Regions from separate parts of the Homo sapiens genome. Here region 1 is linked to region 2. Evidence: promoter capture Hi-C in 16 types of primary human blood cells and fetal thymus (Javierre and others, 2016). All regions are on one chromosome and are shown on one strand. Each heading gives the region's core, a stretch centred on a gene start or on the middle of the fragment in contact. The rest is flanking DNA. Distances are from core to core; before and after follow the strand shown. Region 1 overlaps CPEB1 (cytoplasmic polyadenylation element binding protein 1). Region 2 holds the start of TM6SF1 (transmembrane 6 superfamily member 1).

Region 1 (5,303 bases), core at 19-2,518, 560 kb after region 2:
ACTAAAATGCCTATTTTAGTAAAAAAGATCAGTGGTTGCCAGGGGTTTAGCAGGAAGGGATGAAGAGACATAGCACAGAGGATTTTTAGGGCAGTGAAACTATTCTGTATATGGTGGATACATGTCATTATACTTTGGTCCAAACCCATAGAAGGTAAAAGAAACACCAGGAGTGAACTCTGATGCAAACCATGGACTTTCGGTGGGGATGATGGGTCAGTATAAAAAAATGTTCCACTCTCATGCGGGATCCTGATAGTGGGGAAGTCACGCAAGTGTGGGGGCAGAGAGTATTTGGAGAATCCCTGTACTTTCTGCTCAGATTTACTGTAAACCTTAAAGCTTCTCTAAAAAAATCTATAGGGTAAGAGGAGAAATGCCTATTTTATTGGGATGGTCACATTAGATTTAAAATAAATCCATGTAACAAAGCTGGCTCTTGTTCTGTGTTAGAGAGAGGGCAGGCTCATCCTCTGGCTGCCCACAGTGACCCACAGCTTCCCTACCTTCTCTGCTTCTTTATTCTCTGGAGCTTGTGTAGTCTTCCCACCTTAGTATGTTCTAGGACTTAATTAACATGCTCCTTTTTCCTCCCCTCCTGCTTTCACAACCAGAGATGGCCATATGCATATCACAGAGCCCTTCCCCTTCCTCCTCAGTGCCCCTGTAGACACCATCCTGTCTCCCATTCCCTCCCATCACCTTACAGGGATTTAATCTTTCTTTGATTCACTGGCTATAGGCTGATGCAGTTCTCCTTCCTCTCTACTTTTCTTTTTCCTTTGTGTTCCTCTCCCCGCCAGCACCAACATAGCCAATATAGCCAATCTTTGACTCCCTTCTTCTTTTCTAGTTCAGATAAATGACTCACTTTGTGGCTTCTCTCACCTTTAGACCCAGATTCACCTTTCTAGCCTCATGTCCTACCTGAGCCTCACCTTCCTGTGGGATCCTTCTTCGGGATGTCCTGTAATCCCAAACTCTTTTGTGGGCAAAATTGGCTTTTTCATCTTCCAGTGAAATTGGCTCCCCTCTTGTAACTTCTGCCAGGTCCTCTCATCCCAAGACCGTGTAGGCCCAGCACCTACCAGGCCTGATTCTTCCTTGCTTGCCCATCCTGCTTATGCTGTCTGAGTACTGCAGACTCTTCTGTTGAAGAATCTCTTTGGTCTTGGCCTGTTCTCTGCTCGTTGCCACCAGCCTTGTCCAAGTCTTAATCACCTGTCCTTTGAAACTACTGTTTTTGCCTCCTTGCTGGTTTCTGCCTCAGATCTCTTCCTGCTTCAAGACATATTTTTAGATCTTCACTTCATTCTGGACTCCTCCACCTGCTCTACAAGGTTTTGTTCCAGGTTCAGGAGATTCAGAGGCAAAGGACATGGTCAGCCCCAGCCCTTTAAGACTCCAGGGATCTTGTATGTGACTTTCTACCCAACCTCTCGCCAGTCATTTCCACTGCTCTGGCACAAACCCTCTGAAGGCTAGGTTGGGCCAGTAACCATCTCATACAAATATCGTAAGCACTCCCACCCCTCTGTCCTTCAGGATCCTAGCCTTTAATTTCTCTGTGAGTCCTTCCTTTCTTGAGGACTTCAGATTATGCCCTTTTCATCAGTGTCCACAGCCCTTTGTTGGAACTACACAGTTGGAGGTTGAAATAGAATGCTGGGCTCCTGGGTTTGGCCATGTGGTACTTTTTTGCTTACTCTCCAGCATGAGTGAGTACTGTGTCCACTTCTACCATTCTGGACACATGGACTCAGTAAAATTCAACTCCAGTTGGGGTGGAGTCAGGGTGGTTTATTGGACGCCTGTGTGCCTGAGATTGGGCAACAGCACCTTTTCACCCCTGTAAGGGCGTTAGCTTAGCTTCAGTATCTCCAGAGCACGTACCTTGCCGTGCAAGCACCTCTCTCTCTGTGGCTCTCTGCCAGGGCTGATACACCTTTGGGTGGTTTTCAGGTGCAGGTGATCCCCTGGGTATTAGCCGACAGTAACTTTGTCCGGAGCCCATCTCAGAGGCTTGACCCCAGCAGGACGGTGTTTGTCGGTGCTCTGCATGGAATGCTAAATGCTGAGGCCCTGGCAGCCATCTTGAACGACCTATTTGGTGGAGTGGTGTATGCCGGGATTGACACAGATAAGCACAAGTATCCCATTGGTAAGTGTCCCACTTCTGTGTGCGAAAGCTTGGTTGGCCCCTGGGAGTAGACCAAGATTGTGATACTTCCCCATGGGAGTGAGGAGAGAGGCCTGACCCAGGTCTGCAGATCAGCATATACCAGCACCATAATATCTTTTTCTAGACAAGTCACGAGTACTGGCCCTTCTGTATCTAGCCCTCTACCCACCATCTCCCACGCAGTGGGAGAAAAAGCTATTGGAGACTACAGGAGGTGATAAGAAGTGAGAGTGAGGTAGGAACTTTGTTGGAAGCTCAGAGTTCACAGCGAAACCAGTTTGGAACAGACAACAGGTACTATTTCATGAAAAGGCTGCAATTCTCTGAACTTGCCTGGAGTTTTTTATTAAAAGTTCTTGAAAAGCTCTGGCATTGTCTAAGGTCAGAGACCAGGTCAGGCTGGAGGAGGACTTTCTGAGTGAGTCAGGCAACAGAGTGTGGCCTGTGCTTTCCTAACTCAGAAGTCTGTGGGCCTAACCACTAGGTTTTGATCAGCTCCTCTGAGAAAGGAGGTCAATTCGCCAGTCCTGGCAAAATGTCAATGATGAGGTATGGAGGTGGAGCAGAGCCTGACCTCTGTGATTAACATGTGGCTAACCCACCTCCCCAAATGCTTAGTCTTCACACCCACACTGAATCTGGTCAGGAAGGAGCACCATGTACTCACCAATACTGTGCAGCAGATTGAGAACAGGGACTTCAGAAGCCCCAGGAGCGGAGGAGGAACTTGGCAGGATGGGGCTTCTTCCAGCTCTCTTAATAGGTCTCCAGAGTGCCTAAGGGCTAGGAGAGGTTCAGTTCAACTGCTGGGCTTACCCTTCAGACAAGTGTTCTATCTGCATCTTGGCTTCCACTCTGAATCCTTTAACCTTAACCTATGCTCTACCTGCACTGAAGGAGTCCCTTATCTTTCCTTCCCATCTTGATCTGCAAATTCTTCCCCCATTCCTGAATGGTTCACGCTAACATGATCTCCACTGTCAAATATGGTACGAATATGGTAGCTACCAGCTAAATGTGGCCCCATTGAGTTTTGGAAACACAGCTGTTGTCACATTTGGAAATAATATTATTAACATATAGGGTTAAATAAAATTTTTTTTTTGAGATGGAGTCTCACTCTGTTGCCGTGCTGGAGTGCAGTGGTGCTATCTCAGCTCACTGCAACCTCTGCCTCCTGGGTTCAAGTGATTCTCCTGCCTCAGCCTCCTGAGTAGCTGGGACTACAGGTGTGCGCCACCACGCTCAGCTAATTTTTGTATTTTTAGTAGAGACGGGGTTTCACCATGTTAGCCAGGATGGTCTCCATCTCTTGACCTCATGATCCGCCCACCTTGGCCTCCCAAAGCACTGGGTTTACAGGTGTGAGCCACCGTGCCCGGCCAATAAAATATATTATTAAAATTAATGTCACCACTGTTTTAAAATTTCAGTGTGACTACTAGAAAATTTAAAGTTACATAAGGGCTGACCATGATGGCTTATACCTATAATCCTGGCACTTTGGGAGGCCGAGGTGGGGCAGATCGTTTGAGTCCAGGAGTTCAAGACCAGCCTGGACAATATGGTGAAACCCTGTCTCTACAAAAAAATACAAAAATTAGCCAGGCATGGTGGCTCATGCTTGTAGTCCCAGCTACTTGGGAGGCTGAGGCAGGAGATTGTTTGAGCCTGGGATGCAGAGGTTGCAGTGAGCTGAGATCACGCCATTACACTCCAGCCTGAGTGACAGAGGGAGACCCTGTCTCAAAAAATAAATAAAGTTACATAGTAGCTCACATTATATTTCTGTCGGACAGCACTAGTATCGTAAAGGGTTTCCTGCATTTTAAAAGAGTAGCATTAGGGCAGGCTCGGTGGCTCACGCCTGTAATCCCAGCACTTTGGGAGGCTGAGGCGGGCGGGTCACAAGGTCAGGAGATCAAGACCATGCTGGCTAATGGTGAAACCCGATCTCTACTAAAAATACAAAAAATTAGCTGGGTGTGGTGGCAGATGCCTGTAGTCCCAGCTACTCGGGAGGCTGAGGCAGGAGAATGGCGTGAAACCGGGAGGCAGAGCTTGCAGTGAGCAGAGATTGCGCCACTGCACACCAGCCTGGGCGAAAGAGCGAGACTCCATCTCAAAAAAAAAAAAAAAAAAAAAAAAAGTAGCATTTGGGAGAATTTGGTTAGAAGGGAAGCTTGTGTCTGTTGTCCTAGGTTCTGGTCGTGTGACTTTCAATAACCAACGGAGTTACCTGAAAGCAGTCAGCGCTGCTTTTGTGGAGATCAAAACCACCAAGTTCACAAAGAAGGTGAGTTGGCTGGTTTATGCCCTTACTCTGGGGTATATGAGAGGGGTTTGGGCAGTTACTACCCAGGGCAGGCCTGAGACCTGAAGCTGTTTGTGCTGGGTGTGTTTAGGGAAGTGAGCCAAATTCCTGAGAATTAACATTGAGGTTAGGGTTTGGGAGTGGGCTTGGTCTTTGTACGCCCAGGAGGAAGGGAACTGGGACTGTTGAGCCTCTTCAGTGTGTAGGGTGCCTTCCCTCACTGTGGTATTTCTTTGGCATTGCTCAGTAGCCTGACTTCCTATTTTCCAACCTTTTGGGAATCCTCCGAACACTTGCCTATACTGCTAATTGATAGAGGGCTGAGGTACAGTTTGCCTAGAAGACCAGGCATTAAGGTGTGTGGTTGCCTGAATCCCAGAGGCATCCAGCCTGACTGTGCATGGTGTATGAGTCTGTCCTCTAGAACTCCTTTCTGTACTTCAGGCCCATAATTCTCTCCAAGCCTCCTTTAAAACAGGCAAATATCCTGCATTCCAATATCCCGCATTCCTGTGTGTGGCCAATAATGTGCCCTTCTTCTATCGCCTATCGAGCCTCCTGGTAAGAAGAGCCACTTCATCATCTTATTTTGCCTTTGTGCAGGTTCAGATTGACCCCTACCTAGAAGATTCTCTGTGTCATATCTGCAGTTCTCAGCCTGGTCCTTTCTTCTGTCGAGATCAGGTGGGTCCGATGTCTATGAAGTCCCTGCCCTCTATTAAAAATTGTTGGCTGGGCGCGGTGGTTCACACCTGTAATCCCAGCACTTTGGGATGCCAAGGTGGGCGGATCAGGAGGACCAGCCTG
Region 2 (5,371 bases), core at 822-3,321:
ACACGCAGCGGGGCTGGGCAGCGAGACTTGCACCGGAGCCTTTGCCACAGTCCAGGTCAGAAAGGGCCAGTGCCAGGGAGAACTGAAAGGAGGGAACAGACACTAGAGCCCCAGGACTTATGGGGAAGCAGACAGTAGGAGGAAGGGAGTGGAGAAAGAAGAGAGGAATCAAAGGCCACGGGGGTTTTAACCTGCAAGAGGACAGGAAGAATGGCTGACACTAATTATTCAAAATGCTGTAGTGCTTGCCAGTGCGCTCCATCATGCACAGCAATACATAGTTCAGTCTGTATTCAGTAAATGCCATCACCATCTTCCCAGTGGCTGAGGCCAAAACCTAGGGCTCATCCTCAAATCCTCTGCTGCCATGCAACCCTCTTCAGTAAGCCCCATCTGTTCACCTTCCAAAATACCTACTACGCCCATCCAATTCCTTCCCCTGCACTGCTCCATTTTCCTGCCCGACAGGCTCCATTCCCAGATCTTCCCATAGCTCAAGTGTTACCTCCTCCTAGAAGCCTTCCCTGGCCACCAGCCCCCTCCCCAGTCACCCTATTTTATTATCTTCATAGCATGTCACTATCGATGTATTAATGTTTGTTGATGTCTATCTCATTACCTGCCTCCACAGCCTCTTCTGGCTTGTTCATAGCTATGTCACCAACACTTGGAACAGTGCCAAACACACAGTAGGCACTCAGTATATCTTCACTGAACTACCCGTAATGCCATTTTTTGGAGCACAGGGTCCCCCATGCACTATATTGACAGGCATGTAATATTCGGTGGCCCAGAGCAGCTGCCTCCAGGGGATGCCTCCAGAGACTGGGCCAGACCAAGGGTAGACACTGCTGGTGCCTGGTGAGCACTCAGTGTGGGTGCTGCCTGTATCAGGCGGCCAGGCAGCTGGAGAGGAGGAAGTTACCACCCTATGTACAGACACTCCACGGCCTGACCAGCTGAAGGGGGTTTGCAGCCTACAGACTGATGCAATTTCCTTAGCACCAACAGCTGAGAGACATAGCAGGTTACTTCCTCCTCCCTCCAGACAGCAACCAACATCAGCAGGAACAGAGGCTGGCGCCTGTCCCAACACCCGGCGACCCTCAGGCCTTCAGCTGCCGGCTGCAGGTTAGTCCGTGATCCCTGCAGTGGAGTGGGAGGCAGGGCTTCGAACCCAAGCCCTGTCCCCCTCCATCAGCCCCACCCATTTCCTTCACATTGAAGTGTTCTGCCTCTGCTGCCTGTCCCCATCCTACCCCAGCGCAGGCACTGGGAAGCACTTCTCCATTCACAACGCCCCTTCACAAAGAGGTCTCGGTGGAACCTTACAATAGGACGCACACAAAGTCCACTTGACCGGAAAACCGAGGCCAGACCACACCGTCAGTGCCAAACACCGTCAGGCCAGACACCGTCAGTGCCAAAGCCAGGCCTAGAACCCACGTCTCTGCCTGTTGGTTCCGGGCTATTTCTGCTAGTCATTCACAACAGTTTCTAAAATTAATAAGAAATGATAAGTATGCGAAAGTCCATACATGGAAACGTTCCCGTGAGATGCAAAAAGAACAAGGCACAAACGAGCTGACACGGCCAGGTTCGTAGTGTCCGTGTTTGTTCCGCTCCCCACCGGCCCCTGGGCCCCTCCAGGGCAGGGGCATGGCCGTATTGACGCCTGTGACCCCGGGCACCTGGCGCGGTGCTGGCACCAACATCCCGAAATGCGCCAGCCTGGGCACCTCAGGGCCCGGCTCCAAGACCCGGCCCGTGCGACCCCTGGGGCGCCCCCCTAGTCTGGCCAGGCGCGGGGAGCCCCTGCGGCCACGAACCTCTGTCCCGCGGCGGACGGTCCCAGCCCCCTCGGAAAAGTTGCGAGGCTCCCGTCGCGGCGAGCCAACTCCCGCCGCCCCTCGGCGCGACCCCCGCCGCGCCGGCTCACTCACTCATGCTGGGCCGCCAGGTGGTTGAAGACATAGGTGACCGGGATGGCCGAGAGGGACAGCACGAAGACCCCGGTGGCCGCAGAGGCACTCATCGCAGCCGCCGCGCCGCTCGCCCTTCACCGCATCCCGCTGGGCGCCCCGCCCCAGCTTCCGGCGGCGCCCGCGCCCCCTTGGCGCTTGCCCTTCGAGGCGCCTCAGCCGCGCCCCCCGCGTGGCGCCCTCAGCGGCGTCCCCTCAGCGGTGTCTCCTCCGCGCGCCCTCCCAGCCCGCAGCCGTCCCCCGCGCCTGGCCCCGTCGCCCCAAGTGCGCAGGGCCGCGGTGCAGTCCCGGGAGGCGTCCTTGCAGTGCTCCTGCCAGGGGCGCCACGGCTCAGCGGCAAGCGCCCGGCGGCGCCGAGGGGCGGCGACACCCCCGCGCAGGGACAGGTGCCCCTGGCGGCGCGCGCTCCGAGGGAGGGCCCGGGGCACGGCCGGGAACCGGTCATCGAAGAGCTGGAGAGGCGCGGGGCTGAGCTGCGGTCCGGGAAAGGTGGAACCAGATCCGAGGGTGTCAGAGGAGGAAGGGCCCGCGGGATCGTCTATGGGGGAGCCCACGGCCCAGAAGTGGGAAAGGACAAAATGCCCCTGAAACCTCGGAACCTCTCCGCTCCAGTAGCCATCGGCGGGCTGCTGCACGGAGCCGGCATCCGGTTTTTAAACCTGGCTCTCCAGTCACCAGCTGTTGACTTTGGTCAAATTACTTAACCTCTCTGTCTTTTCCCTTATCTGGGAAATGGGGATAACACACTTCATAGTGTGACTGTGGGGTTAACTGAGTTCATACCTACGAAGCGCGTTATCCTGTGCTGCTCACTACACCACCTCCTGCGATTCTTTTTTTTTTTTTTTCTTTAATTGAAATGGACATAAATGCTGAGACTCTAAGAGACTAGAGCGCCATTCATTGCTATTCCAGGAAGCATTCCTGGAGGCCAGGTGCCCACCAGCCAGCCTGCATTGGGCCCTGCAGGGTACAAAGACTGGAAGATAAGCCTCTTCCTCTGAATGATAGATGCCTACGGGTATGGAAAATATTGTGTGTCAAGTGTTGTGGCTATCTGAAGGGCAGTGAGTTCCAGGAGAACAGCTCAAGCAACTGAGGGAGGTACCGGCATGTACTTACTGTCTTTACAACTTCCAGGGAATTTAAGAGACCATTTATGTGTTTTTGCTGTTGCCATTTGAGGGGTTTATTTTATTTATTTATTTATTTATTTATTTATTATTTTTATTTTTTTTTTTTTTTGAGACAGAGTCTCGCTCTGTCACCCAGGCTGGAGTGCAGTGGTGCAATCTTGGCTCACTGCAAGCTCCACCTCCCGGGGTTCACGCCATTCTGCCTCAGCCTCCAGAGTAGCTGGGACTACAGGTGCCCGCCACCGCGCCGGGCTAATTTTTTGTATTTTTAGTAGAGACGGGGTTTCACCGTGGTCTTGATCTCCTGACCTCGTGATCCGCCCGCCTCGGCCTCCCAAAGTGCTGGGATTACAGGCGTGAGCCACCGCGCCCAGCCTATTTTTATTTTTATTTTTTTAAGACAGGGTCTCACTCTGCAAACCAGGCTAGAGGCAGTGGAGAGATGAGGGCTCACTGCAGTCCCCACTTTCCCACGCCAAGCCATCCTCCCAGCTTAGCCTCCTTAGCTCCTGGGACTACAGTCTCGCACCACTTCTTTGTAGAGGCAGGGTCTCACTATGTTGCCCAAGCTGGTCTCAAACTCCTGGGCTCAAGTGATCCTCCCTCCTCGGCCTCCCAAAGTGCTGGGATTACAGGTGTGAGCCACCGCACCTAGCCTCTAAAAGACCATTTGGCTCATTTTAGACATGAGGAAAATGAGCTACGAGGAGGTATGGCCTGCTCCAGGGCCACTCCACTTTTCAAATGCCAGTTCTCCTAATCCTTCATCCTAGTTCTTCTTGAAGGCTTCTCCAGCTCTGAGTGCATAACGTTTAAGCCTTGGCCCACACTGTGACATATCCAAAGTTTCTCCAAGAGGTGTCCTCACCTGTCACCTGCACATCACCCTCTTCCACCCCTAACCTTCACCACTCTCCTTAAACTCCTACTTCCTCCCTGACAAGAGACACTTCCTCCTATACCTCTGAGCTCCCAGCCAGGCTCCCAAGCCAGCCCATCCCTTCCATCAACACCCAACCTTGTTGCATCAGTCTCAGAGCTGCTCCCTCAGAGCCCACAAGGGACCCAAGTGACATGGCAAAGTTTCAAGGTATTGTGATATACATATTGGGAATTACATGATTTTTTTGTTGACAACAGTTTCTCTTTTTTTTTTTTTTTTTTTTTTTTTTTTTTTTTTTTTTTTGAGATGGAGTCTCGCTCTGTCACCCAGGCTGGAGTGCAGTGGCGGGATCTCGGCTCACTGCAAGCTCCGCCTCCCGGGTTCACGCCATTCTCCTGCCTCAGCCTCCCAAGTAGCTGGGACTACAGGCGCCCGCCACTACGCCCGGCTAATTTTTTGTATTTTTAGTAGAGACGGGGTTTCACCGTTTTAGCCGGGATGGTCTCGATCTCCTGACCTCGTGATCCGCCCGCCTCGGCCTCCCAAAGTGCTGGGATTACAGGCGTGAGCCACCGCGCCCGGCCAGTTTCTCTCTTAATGCTGAAAATATGAGTGGTCAGAATGCTTGTAGTTGGGAAGAGTTTTTCGCAGGAACCTTCCCTGGCTTTTGGGATAAGTGAACCCCTCTGGCTGCCCTGGATCCTTCCGCTCAACCTAGACACAGGCTCAAGTAGCTTCCAATTTAGAAATCTGCTCCCTGAACCTGAGTGTCCTGGGTTTTTTTTGTTTGTTTGTTTTTTGTTTGTTTGTTTGTTTTTGAGACAAAGTCTCGCTCTTTCACTCAGGCTGGAGTGAAGTGGCACAATCTCAGCTCACTGCAACCTCTGCCCTGCCCCCCGCCGGGTTCAAGCAATTCTGCCTCAGCCTCCCAAGGAACTAGGATTACAGGTGCCCGCCACCATACCCGGCTAATTTTTGTATTTTTAGTATAGATGGGGTTTCATCATGTTGGCCGGGCTGGTCTCAAACTCCTGAACTCAGGTGATCCACCCGCCTCCATCTCCCAAAGTGCTGGGATTACAGGTGTGAACCACCACACCTGGCCCTGAGTGTCCTCTTTTGCCTACCATCTTCTCTTGTTTCTTTCTCAGACACACTTGGTTTTAATGGCCACATCTATGATGCTAGATCCCAAATAACAAGCCCTGACCTGTTATTCCCTTAGCATGGCTGCCTGGGCATCCCGGTGGCACCTCACAATGTCAAAACAGAATTCCTCATTTCCTCAAGACACACTCCTGCTTTATTTTATCTGGTGGCACCACAATTCGCCCACTCACCCAAGCCAGAAGCCTGGGAGCCATCAGTTC

The links. The method cuts DNA at HindIII sites, captures the fragments that hold promoters and counts their contacts. A CHiCAGO score of 5 or more calls a contact.
Region 1: a contact is called between a fragment that was not itself captured here and the fragment with the promoter of TM6SF1 in region 2, in 2 of 17 cell types (M0 macrophages and monocytes). The highest score is 6.1, in M0 macrophages.

Annotation. Positions count from the first base shown.
Region 1 is chr15:82,546,318-82,551,620 of GRCh38, reverse strand. CPEB1 (cytoplasmic polyadenylation element binding protein 1) reads left to right here. Exons shown (of 13, transcript NM_001365242.1): 10 at 1,963-2,161; 11 at 4,384-4,478; 12 at 5,100-5,180. Among named protein-coding and RNA genes, the nearest start is that of RPS17, 8.5 kb to the right of the region's middle. The HindIII fragment of the contact is 1,847 bases long and covers 345-2,191 here.
Region 2 is chr15:83,104,345-83,109,715 of GRCh38, reverse strand. It overlaps TM6SF1 (transmembrane 6 superfamily member 1), which reads right to left and starts at 2,071. Exons shown (of 10, transcript NM_023003.5): 1 at 1,944-2,071. The coding sequence starts at 2,035. RefSeq lists silencers at 2,014-2,133, 2,164-2,443. The HindIII fragment of the contact is 11,695 bases long and covers 1-5,371 here.